4 separate regions of the Homo sapiens genome follow, and all the other regions are linked to region 3. Evidence: promoter capture Hi-C in 16 types of primary human blood cells and fetal thymus (Javierre and others, 2016). All regions are on one chromosome and are shown on one strand. The core of a region is centred on a gene start or on the middle of the fragment in contact, and the rest is flanking DNA. Distances in the headings are between cores, read along the strand shown. Region 1 overlaps CAND1.11 (a long non-coding RNA gene). Region 2 overlaps CAND1.11 (a long non-coding RNA gene). Region 3 holds the start of IRAG1 (inositol 1,4,5-triphosphate receptor associated 1). Region 4 overlaps CAND1.11 (a long non-coding RNA gene).

Region 1 (2,776 bases), core at 144-2,643, 320 kb before region 3:
AATTGTGTAAGCAGAACCAATTGAGATGTCTATGGTGTTAGTTATTTTTTTGTGCTGGTAATTGTCAGTCCTCTTCAATTAGGGCACAAATGGGATGATTTTTTTCCTCACAAGTTGATGTGGATGGTCGGTCACTGCAGGCTTCATCTTCAACATTGTCTCATCCTTTCTTAAAATGAGGTATCTGTTTGCAAACTGCTGATTTCTTTGGGGCTTTGTCCCTATAAACTTTTGTAAAGCATCAGTGATTTTATCATTCTTCCACCCAAGCTTCACCATAAATCTGATGTTTGTTCTTCAATTTTAGTAGAATTCATGTTGGTCTGATAGAGGCTCTTTTCAAACTCATGTCTTATCCTCCTTAGTGCCTCAAACTAGATTCTGTTCAACATATTATAACAAGTTAGTATGAGTTTATGTTGGTGCAGAAAAAATTTTAAATCCATGCATAGTTTTCTCATAAGACACATTTTTCATAAACTTTGTGAAGTCTCTTTGTATGTGAGATAATGGTTATGTTAATTTTTAGTCATTCCACAATGTAGTCATTATCAAACATCATGTTGTGCATGTTGCACAAATATATACACTTTCATTTGTCAATTAAATAGAAGTTCAAAGAGTGGACATATTATGAAGTATAGTATACTGCAAGATAGAAATGAATTTGAAAAATTAAACTTGGGGGAAAAAGCACTTACCATGTGACTATTTTAAACTATTTACTACTTGAAAACAAACAGTTCATGAACATCATCTTTTTCAAGCTTTGAAATAATCTATAAGGTGGATATTATTCCCATTTTTCAGATGAGGAACCTGACATTACATAACTTGCTTCTTTCAAGTGCCTCCTCCAAAGGGCAAAGCTGGGGCCACACAGGTGGGTGCCTACCACCCTTAAAGGCACAGTCGTCTGGTGTCCCCATCTGACGCAAACAGTCCAACTCTTGTGTTGTGAACACAAGTAGATCCACTCCTTTTTGAGACCGATTCCCTGGAAGGGAGCCCATGCCACTGCCTGGCCCAAGACTCTTGGCTGCAGGAAGCTGACCTGCTTTTATCCATGGAGTCAGCAAAATGTGAAGATAATTTATAATAGCCATTAGCAGAGTGCATTTGAGGTCAAGTATGAACCTCCTGCACTTCAGCTCTACACAGATCTGTGCAGGAGCAAAGAGGAGTCAAATTTCTGGAAGCAATCTAACCATAACAAATGAAGACTGTGTTGCTTCAAGGCTTTTAGGTAAGTGCTAAAGGGGAGATGGAGAACAACAGTGTGAACATACTTAACACTACTGAACTGTACACTTAAGAATGGTTAAGATAGTAAATTTTCCATTGTGCGTGTGTTTTTTTGCCACAATTAAAAATAAAAATAAAAAAGGAGATGGTCTCCTTTTTTATTTTTATTTTTAATTGTGGCAAAAGTGATGATCTATAGCCTGCACAGATATAGATCAGATCTATTACTGATAATTCTCCATATTTATCAGTTGGTAAATGGGACCTGTAAAGGAAGTGTGGGTCTGTGTGGGATATAGATCATCAAGATAGAGAAGTGGGGGAGCAGATGCACAGTCAGATCAGGCAGAGGTAGACCATAAAAGGCCGTCACAGAAACTCTACCTGTAGCCAGTTTCATTCTGGTGAGGAGGATTGGCAGTTAACCTCAGGCCCCTAGGCCATGACTGTACTTTATTCAAAGTCACTGTATATGTGTATACATGTATACACACACACACACATATGTGTATATATGCCTATATATACACACATATCTGTATATATGTGTATGTACATGTATATACATAGACCTATATGTACATGCATACAAATGCATATACATGTATATACACATATATGCATGCATGTGTATGTATATGTATGTTTATGCATGCATGCATGTTTATCTATATGTATGTATAATTCACAAACCATATTACATGGTTAATGTCATAGGGGGATTTAGGTCTTTCAAACGATCCTTTTGTCATCTTTACAAAGTCCTGAATCACAGAAGCTTTTGTTCAGGAGGGAGGTCTGAATGAATGGACCTGCTGGCATTGTAGTCATCATTCCTGGGCTGAGTGTATGTCCCAGATGAGCTGTCTCCTGTGCCTATCTGTTTGGGCTACATGTTAGACCAGAAGCAGCACACAGAAAGCCAGCAAGGCAGAAACAGCACCATGATTCTGATTGTCTAATGGGAAGATCCAGCCTCTCTTCTCTTGACCAGACTTAGCTGCAGGCTCCCTGGGAGATAGGACCCTGACACATCTCTCAGAGAGAAGCCCTGCCAGTGACAAGGTAAGCGACAAGTCTGGGAACAAGTTTGGAAATCTTGGCTTCTTTTGAAATGAATGAGGCCTTGGATGCTGGGAGTGGGGCAGTGGGGAGGGAAGCTGTGGCTCTTGTTTTTTGCTCATGGAGAAATGGAAGGCCTTTAGAGAAACAGGTATTGACTTAGAGGTATAAAACTGGAGTGGCAACTGATTCCCAGAACTTTAGAGCTCTCTCCTCTTTTTCAAGGTTCTGGGATGGTATGTAAGTGTATCCCTTCTGCCTAGCCAGCTTTCCTATCTCTAGACCGGAGAGGACCCTCTCTCTGACCTTTGACCCTGCCATACCTAGCACAGGACTTAAAAGTGGCTCCTGTTGCATCCCATGGCGAGTGCAGACAGCCCTATCCTATACCCTTTTCATTCCTCTTAGCTTGGTATACAACAGTCTTTTCCCCTAGTTTATAATCTGTGAGGGCTGACACTATGTCTTG
Region 2 (2,700 bases), core at 128-2,627, 280 kb before region 3:
TTTTGGTAGAGACGGGGTTTCACCATGTTGGCCAGGATGGCCTCGATCTCTTGACCTTGTAATCCACCCGCCTCGGCCTCCCAAAGTGTTGGGATTACAGGCGTGAGCCACCACGCCCGGCCGACACATTCTTATTAACTTGATGGCACAGTTGGCTGGCAGGTTCCCAGGTCATGTTCTCAGTGATTGGAGTTCTTGCTGTTTCTTGGACTCCTTCATGTCTCACCCAGTCCTAAGTCCCTTCCTTGCTTCTTAATTAATTTATGTCCTTGTGTAATATGTGGCACACCCACATAGCCATGAGGCATGTTCAGGCTGTGTTTTTTAATGTTCTGGCTTGTTCTACATTTGCCAAGTGGGCAAGGACAGCAGTTACCTGATTGGCTCCATTTGGGCAGCAGAACCTAAACAGTGACTACCTGTTGGAATCCACCTGGCCTAGGTATCTTTTGTTTGTTTGTTTAAATAACAACAAGCATTTCTTATGGTGTTTTGTTTTCTCCTGAACTCTGTAAAGACAATGGCAACACAGAGGTCAGTCTAGAATGACTATACTGGCACTAGGAGATGAGAACTATACAAGTGGAATTAAGCAAATGTATAGACACAAAATCATCACAAAAAGGGTGAAGTGCTGTTCAGTTATTGATGCCAGTCCCTCTTCTCTAGGGGACTGTGACAGCTGTAGCCAGATGTGTCCAGGAGATTATCTCTGTCCTGATTCTGTCAGCATCCTCTTCATTTATTGTCTGGTTTTGCTTCTAAGTCTTCTTCTGCATCTCAAGCTGTCTGCATGCCATACTGTCTGCATTGAAATGATTTGCTTGCTTAAAATGAGTCTTGGCCAGGTGCAGTGGCTCACGCCTGTAATCCCAGCACTTCGGAGGCCAAGGACTCCTGAGGTCAAGAGTTCGAGAGAAGCCTGGCCAACATGGTGAAACCTCATCTCTACTAAAAATACAAAATTAGCCAAGTGTGGTGGCACATACCTGTAATCCCAGCTGAGACAGGAGAATCGCTTGAACCCGGGAGGCAGAGGCTGCCGTGAGCCGAGGTGCCACTGCACTTCAGCCTGGGCAAGACAGAGGGAGACTCTGTCTCAAAAAAAAAATGGGTCTTAATATCAATAGTGGGGAATTCTCAGTCTCTCCATCAGCAGGTGCTGAAAGCTCACAATAAAGGAGAAAATTTTCAATAGCTGTTTTTTTTTTTAAGAGATGGGGTCTTGTTCTGTTACCCAGGCCAGATGCAGTAGTGTGGTGATCATGGCTCACTGCAGCTTCAACCTCCCTGGGTCAAGTGATCTTCCCGCGTCAGCCTCCCAAGTAGCTAGGACTACAGGTGTGTGCCACCAGACCCAGGTGATTTTTAATATTTTATAGACATCTTGCTATGTTGCTCAGGCTGGTCTCAAACTCCTGGACTCAAGCAATCCCGCCATCTTAGCCTCCTGAGTTGCTGGGATTATAGGCGTGAGCCACTGCTCCCGGCCCAGTAGTCATGTTTTTGAGGAAGTTTATTTTTATCCAGTATGTTTGGCTCTGCATGGGTTCCTTAAGATACTAGGGACTGTCTTTGGGTCACAAAGCCAGCATGACACTAACATGGGTCTCAATATCCTTTGCTTGATAGCTTTGGACCTGAACATCACCTGACAGCTCCACACACTGTGTTCTGGCTTGTTCCTAATCCTGCCAGTTCCTGACCTGCCATTGTTCCATGTTTGGCTTCACCTTGTCTTTTGCACCTGACATTTGGTCCGTGCTGCTGGCTCTATTCCACCTATGGCAACCTGAATAAAAACTCTCTTTCCAGCCTTGTTTCTAAAGCTCTTCCTTGGCCCAGATCCCCCTAGGTGGCTTCTACCAGCCTTGTCCAGTTGAGGAGCATGGCCTAGACACCTGTGAGGGTCTCTGCCTGCCTCCAGCTGTGCCCAGGATTGGCTTCTCCTCAGCTGTGCCTCATGCTGGGCCACATCATGGGAGCAGGCTGGTCAGCAGGGGTGGATGCTGACCTACAAAGGGCTCCTTACTGCCAAAAGTCATTGATTCCCCATCCTTCTGGTCTACCATTAAACATCTGTAGCCACTTAGGGTTTTGACTTTTAACTATTTCTTGACCACATACCTCCATTACCCTCCAGAGAGCACCCTTTTAGAAATAAATGTAATAGTTACTACATTTGTTCAATGATTTACAGTCAACAGAGCACTTTAGTATATTCACATGTATTATCTCATTTCCATACTTTCTTTTTTTAAGCAAACATAAAATAATTTTATCAGATACAACAAAAATTAAAACATAACAAAAGTATCACATATAATGTTATATTCCCATTTAAATATAACATAGAAAAATACTACAAAATAAGAAATACAAAACCAAAACCTAGATAAGATTTTATTTATTATGATGGGTGTGCTTGCCTGTTCATAAGTTCATTCCAGTCTGGAACACAGGAAGATAATGCTACCCACATAGCTGCTGCACCATTTGATCCATTCCTTTCTGTTGCTTTTAACTGAGTTAAGATAGAAAACCCTAGTTCACACAAACTAGTTGTTGTGAATGGTAGTAATAGTAGGACACTCTTTCTACTTAACAAAGGAAAGTCTTCCTTTACCTTAATTCAAAATGCTGATAAATTTAAGGTCTCATAATCATTCTTCAATGTATATGAAGAACTAAACTAAGATA
Region 3 (2,700 bases), core at 72-2,571:
CTGAGTTCCCTCCCCCATAGAACTGTTGGGGTAGGGGAGTGCAGGGGGATGGGCAACTCCACCTGCCTCACTAGCATGTCATCGTCCCTCGGTGGGGGCAATACAATCCTTGGCAGGTCCTGACTCCTTTGGACCCCCAGCCTCACAGTCCCAGGAAGCTTCCTCCTTTTCCCTGCAAAAGACTCTGCTCAGACCAGATTTACTTCCCTGTGCCACCCCAGTGAGCAGCCTGAAGAGTGTTCAGCAGCTGCCGAGCTCTGGGAGGCTGGAGTGCTGGCCAGGGGTCCCAGACCCCGGGCTGCTGTTTACTCAAACTGCAGAGCCTCTATAGCCTTTACAACTGTTTCCTGGGCAGGAGGGAGCAAGACAGCTGGGCCTCTCTCTGGCCTCTGGCTTCCACTGGCTTTTCCTTTGGAAAAAGCCAGTTCAAATGGTGCTCACTCTAGGAATCGCTTCAACTCGGAGCCCTGGAGGTGAGCAGGGCCGGGCACGGGCCGGGCACATACACCCCCTCTAGGGAGCAGGGAAGGGCACAGGCCAGGGGAAGCTGGAGACAAAAGAGGAGACAGGGACAGAGATAAAAACAGGGACTGTGACAAGAACACAGGATGGGAAGGGCAGAGACAGAAATAGAGGCAGGCTTAAGGATCTAGACAGGTCATGCCAGCCCAGGTTCAAGGCAGAGGGGCGTAGGGGGACAGAGAGAGAGACACAGGAAGCACAGAGGGGAGAAAGCTCTGCTTAGCAGACTTGCCAAAGCTGAAGACCCCACTGTTGCCACAAAGGGGCCCACAGGAAAGCTAGGGGTTGCAATCGCCTGTCAGGACCCACATTTTCACCCTGAGCTGTGCACACTTTCCAACGGCAAGCAAAAGGAGCACAATCTAGTTAAGTTAGGACTGGCAAGATTCACTTCTGATTTAAAACTTAAGACAGCAACAATAAAGATACTCAGCTGAAATGCCACCCAACAAAGCCAGCTCCCCTGGAAAGTTAAAGTTTAGCACCCCCATCCCAGCACCCTGTACCTTTAAGGAAGAGAAGGTTCCCTCCGCTTCCCAGCCGAAGAGGCAGGTTATTCTAGGATATAGGGGAGGCTTACCTAAAACTGAGTTATTCTCCTTTCCTCCTCTGGCCAGCCTCTCTTCACTCTGGGGAGCTTTTACCATTTAAGGTCAATGTTACATCTGGCTCCGGAGCTCAGAGCCGAGAAGCCTCTGGCTGCAGAACCTCGGCCGCACGCCTCCTCTGAGAGGGGCTGGGACTTAGAGCCGAGAGCTCCTCTGGGAGCCCCACTCCGGCCTGGCTCGGGGGATAATGGCAGGGAAAGCCGACCAGCTGGCCTCAGGGCTCAGGGCAGGCTGGGCCTTTGGGGCAGTCGCTCACCCTGGGCCCCTCCGATGGGTATCCACACAGCAGATGGCAGTCCCCATGGCAACTCGTGCCACTGGACACTGTCCTGGCCGGACGGGAACAAAGGGACCCTGCAGATCTCCCCACCCGCCTGGAGCCTCCAGCAAGCATGTGAGCCTGGAGAAGACCCTGGGCCAGCGCCAAGAGAAACTGGGAATGGTTCCTGTCCTGGGGATTCGGGGGCAGGGGCTGCTCCCACTGCGTTAAACTCTTGGGATTGCCAGAGAGAATGGCCTGGGAGATTCAGCTACTCCCAGACTTGGCACCAGCCCCAGGGATGTCAACCTTGCTCCTCCATTAAACAGCCTGTGGTCTTAACATCGTGGAGCCTCAGTCTCCTCATCTCTAAAGTGGAAATAATAATGATAATGCCCGACTCACTAGGTAGTCAGGGGATTAAATGAGATGTTAGTCAAGTGTTTAACACACTGCCAGCATCTCATAAGAGCTAGATCAGTATGAATGAGCTTCCTGCCCCTGCCCAGGAAATCCATACCCTGTCCATACACACTCTTCACCTGCCTTGGGTATAGGGCCTACCCAAGGCCAGGATCATGGAGCTCCAAGCTGGGGGCAAGCCACATGGGGACTTCAGCCCCTTCTGTGGTTAGAGCAGCACAGAGAAACCCTAGGTAAAGTTGCTAGATAAATTACAGGACACCCATTTAAATTTGGATTTCAGATAAACACAGGACATACTTGTATTAAAGACTGTTATTTATCTGAAATTCAAATTTAATTAGTCATCCTCTATTTTTGTTTGATAAATCCGGGAACCCTAGCTTTTGGCCATCATTAGCCACCCAGAAAACATTCAGTAGTCATGGTAGAGAGCACTAGGGATTGGAGCTCCCAGGCCTATGGCCTCAAGCTCTCCTGGCAAACACAGTCCTTATGCTCAGCTCCTGGCCACAGATCAGTTGTGCAGCAGTGGCAGATGCTCTCCACTGAGCCTGGCCCACTGAGCCTCCATCCCAGCACCTTCCTCAGGCATGTGGTTCTCAGGAAGTCCTGTCTCTTCTGTGTGGTTGTTGTAAGAGAGATCACTAACAGGGGTGCAGCGCATGAAGTCCGCTACCCTCATCAATAATTGTTTTTTGTAAATGAAACCAGAGGAGGCTGTCTTGGGTACTAGCCATGCTTTCTCTCAAGTGTCCACACCTGTCCACATGGAGGTACAGGCTCCCCCCACAACCCCCGTCCCCCACAAAGCCACATGGTGGTAACTACTAGAATTGCAAGTATATGGTCTAGAAGGAACTGACCAAACTCTTCAGTGCTGTTTCT
Region 4 (2,732 bases), core at 123-2,622, 300 kb before region 3:
GTATTACCTGAGCACATGCAAGCCTGACTTATCCTAATCTCTTTCTCATCTAGGTGCTAAAATGACATTTTCTCTGAACTTGGGACTATAGAATTCTTGCTAGTGCAGGGTCTGTTCTGTTCAGTCACCACCCATTCCTCAGACATGGTTTCTATTGCCTTTTGCCCACAGCTGAAATTCCCCCATCCATCCATCCATCTATCCATCCACCCATCCATCCACCCATCCAGTCATCTAATAAATGTATCTGCCAAGTCCTGTGTAAACAACTCAGGCATGGTTTCTTCCTGCAAGGAGCCTTGTGTCTGCCTCAAGCCCTGCCTCTGTCTGGCAGGACCTGGACTGTCTCCAGCTGGACTTGCTAATATGTCTCCAGTCTAGGCTCATTCTTATGGGGATAGCAGACAATGGCAGGGAGACTGGCAATAAACATGTAAACATATAATTAATTGTCAACTGCTAATTGGCTTAATGTTATATAAAGAATAAGACTGCAAAAGAAAATGACAACAAATTATGAGGGCACCTACTTAGGAAGGGTATTAGGAGTAGGCTTTCTGAGGAAGTGACCTTTAAGCTAAGATCTGAAGGATGTCATAGGGGAAAAAAATGTGCAGAGAACAGAAAACAAAAAGTGCTAAGGCCCTGAGGTGGAGAAGGAAACATGTTCCAGAACTGGAAAGAAGCTTGATGTGGCTGAAGTACAGCAAATGAGAAAGTGGCATAAAATGAGACCAGGGAAGAAGGCAGGAGACATATTCATGCACAGCTTTTTGGCCTTGGTGAGGAAGTTATAAAAGGAAAGAGCTAAAGCAGAAATTGATGTGATCTGATTTAAAAGATTGCTCTAGCTGCTACGTGGAAAATAGATTGGAGAGGGGGTCACATGGAAGCAAGGAACTGCTGGTCTTTTAGCCAAGGGATGATGGGTGGCTTAATTTGATGGGACAGCACTGGAGACAAGTTTGGGGTATAGAGTAGGATGTGGTGGGCAAGGGAGACTTCATGTACTTTTGCCACATTTCTGCTTGAGAAACTGAGTGAATAGTGTAGGGGTGGGTTGCCCCTCCACACCTGTGGGTGTTTCTCGTAAGGTGGGACGAGAGATTTGGAAAAGAAAAAGACACAGAGACAAAGTATAGAGAAAGAAATAAGGGGACCCGGGGAACCAGCGTTCAGCATATGGAGGATCCCGCCAGCCTCTGAGTTCCCTTAGTATTTATTCATCATTTGTGGGTGTTTCTCGAAGAGGGGGATGTGTCAGGGTCACAAGACAATTGTGGGGAGAGGGTCAGCAGACAAACACGTGAACAAAGGTCTTTGCATCATAGACTATGTAAAGGATTAAGTGCTGTGCTTTTAGATATGCATACACATAAACATCTCAATGCTTTACAAAGCAGTATTGCTGCCCGCAGGTCCCACCTCCAGCCCTAAGGCGGTTTTTCCCTATCTCAGTAGATGGAGCATACAATCGGGTTTTATACCGAGACATTCCATTGCCCAGGGACGGGCAGGAGACAGATGCCTTCCTCTTGTCTCAACTGCAAGAGGCATGCCTTCCTCTTATACTAATCCTCCTCAGCACAGACCCTTTACGGGTGTCGGGCTGGGGGACGGTCAGGTCTTTCCCTTCCCACGAGGCCATATTTCAGACTATCACATGGGGAGAAACCTTGGACAATACCTGGCTTTCCTAGGCAGAGGTCCCTGCGGCCTTCCGCAGTTTTTGTGTCCCTGGGTACTTGAGATTAGGGAGTGGTGATGACTCTTAAGGAGCATGCTGCCTTCAAGCATCTGTTTAACAAAGCACATCTTGCACCGCCCTTAATCCATTTAACTCTGAGTTGACACAGCACATGTTTCAGAGAGCACAGGGTTGGGGGTAAGGTTATAGATTAACAGAATCTCAAGGCAGAAGAATTTTTCTTAGTACATAACAAAATGGAGTCTCCTATGTCTACTTCTTTCTACACAGACACAGTAACAATCTGATCTCTCTTGCTTTTCCCCACAAATAGTGGTGTCTTTAACTGAGATATGAAGATCACAAGCAGAGAAGCTTCCGAGTTCAGGGAGGAAATCCAGAGTTCGGATTTGAGCATGTTAAGTTTGAGATCTCCGTTAGACATCCACGAAGGTCAGGTAGGCACTTGAATAAATGAGACTGGAACTCAGAAGAGGCTTGGGCTGGAGCGAAAGCTGAATTGTCAGCATATGGAGAATAGGTAAGGTAGGAGGGACACCCTCTTATCTGTTTCCCTGGGAGCCTTGCACTAAAGCTAAGGTCTTTCAAACAGACTTGAGTAAAGGCATCAGGGGTGGGGGACCTGGAATACCCTTCCAATATGAGGGCTCTTGGGTTCCTGCAGGGCCAGGACTGTGCATAATAGTGATTCAACTGGGGCAGGAGAACTTTCTTGGCTCCACTGGGGCTGGCCTTTCTTAGGATTGTTTTAAATTCCATTGATTATTCTTTGCTTTGCTCTGGAAACAACTACTCTTTATGTAAGCCCTCTCTGAAAGTGACAAATCATGGAAAAATTCTTTTGGATTTGAATGCAGTGAAGGCAGAGAGGGCGCATCTTGCTTTGTGGTGTGGAGGCCATGCTGAGGATGTGCCGCGGGCCAGAGAGCTGGAAAGTGGGTTCAGGCAGCCAGGCTGAGTCAACCCTTCACCCCTGAGAAACCCACGCAGAGCATCACGTGATGTGGAGGAACAGGGGCACTGA

The links. Contacts are between HindIII fragments. The CHiCAGO score rates a contact against its expected background, and 5 or more counts as called.
Region 1: a fragment that was not itself captured here is called in contact with the fragment with the promoter of IRAG1 in region 3 in 1 of 17 cell types (neutrophils); the score reaches 6.2 in neutrophils.
Region 2: a contact is called between a fragment that was not itself captured here and the fragment with the promoter of IRAG1 in region 3, in 9 of 17 cell types (M2 macrophages, megakaryocytes, naive CD4 T cells and 6 more). The highest score is 8.7, in M2 macrophages.
Region 4: a contact is called between a fragment that was not itself captured here and the fragment with the promoter of IRAG1 in region 3, in 1 of 17 cell types (neutrophils). The highest score is 8.2, in neutrophils.

What each region holds. Positions count from the first base shown.
Region 1 is chr11:10,372,499-10,375,274 of GRCh38, forward strand. The region is part of intron 2 of CAND1.11 (a long non-coding RNA gene); the gene reads left to right. Among named protein-coding and RNA genes, the nearest start is that of CAND1.11, 66 kb to the left of the region's middle. The HindIII fragment of the contact is 1,256 bases long and covers 766-2,021 here.
Region 2 is chr11:10,415,144-10,417,843 of GRCh38, forward strand. The region is part of intron 3 of CAND1.11 (a long non-coding RNA gene); the gene reads left to right. Among named protein-coding and RNA genes, the nearest start is that of AMPD3, 39 kb to the right of the region's middle. RefSeq lists a silencer at 918-1,131. The HindIII fragment of the contact is 6,018 bases long and covers 1-2,700 here.
Region 3 is chr11:10,692,434-10,695,133 of GRCh38, forward strand. It overlaps IRAG1 (inositol 1,4,5-triphosphate receptor associated 1), which reads right to left and starts at 1,322. Exons shown (of 21, transcript NM_130385.4): 1 at 1,103-1,322. The coding sequence starts at 1,169. The HindIII fragment of the contact is 5,409 bases long and covers 157-2,700 here.
Region 4 is chr11:10,390,261-10,392,992 of GRCh38, forward strand. All of the region lies in intron 2 of CAND1.11 (a long non-coding RNA gene), which reads left to right. Among named protein-coding and RNA genes, the nearest start is that of AMPD3, 64 kb to the right of the region's middle. RefSeq lists an enhancer at 2,054-2,732. The HindIII fragment of the contact is 1,376 bases long and covers 685-2,060 here.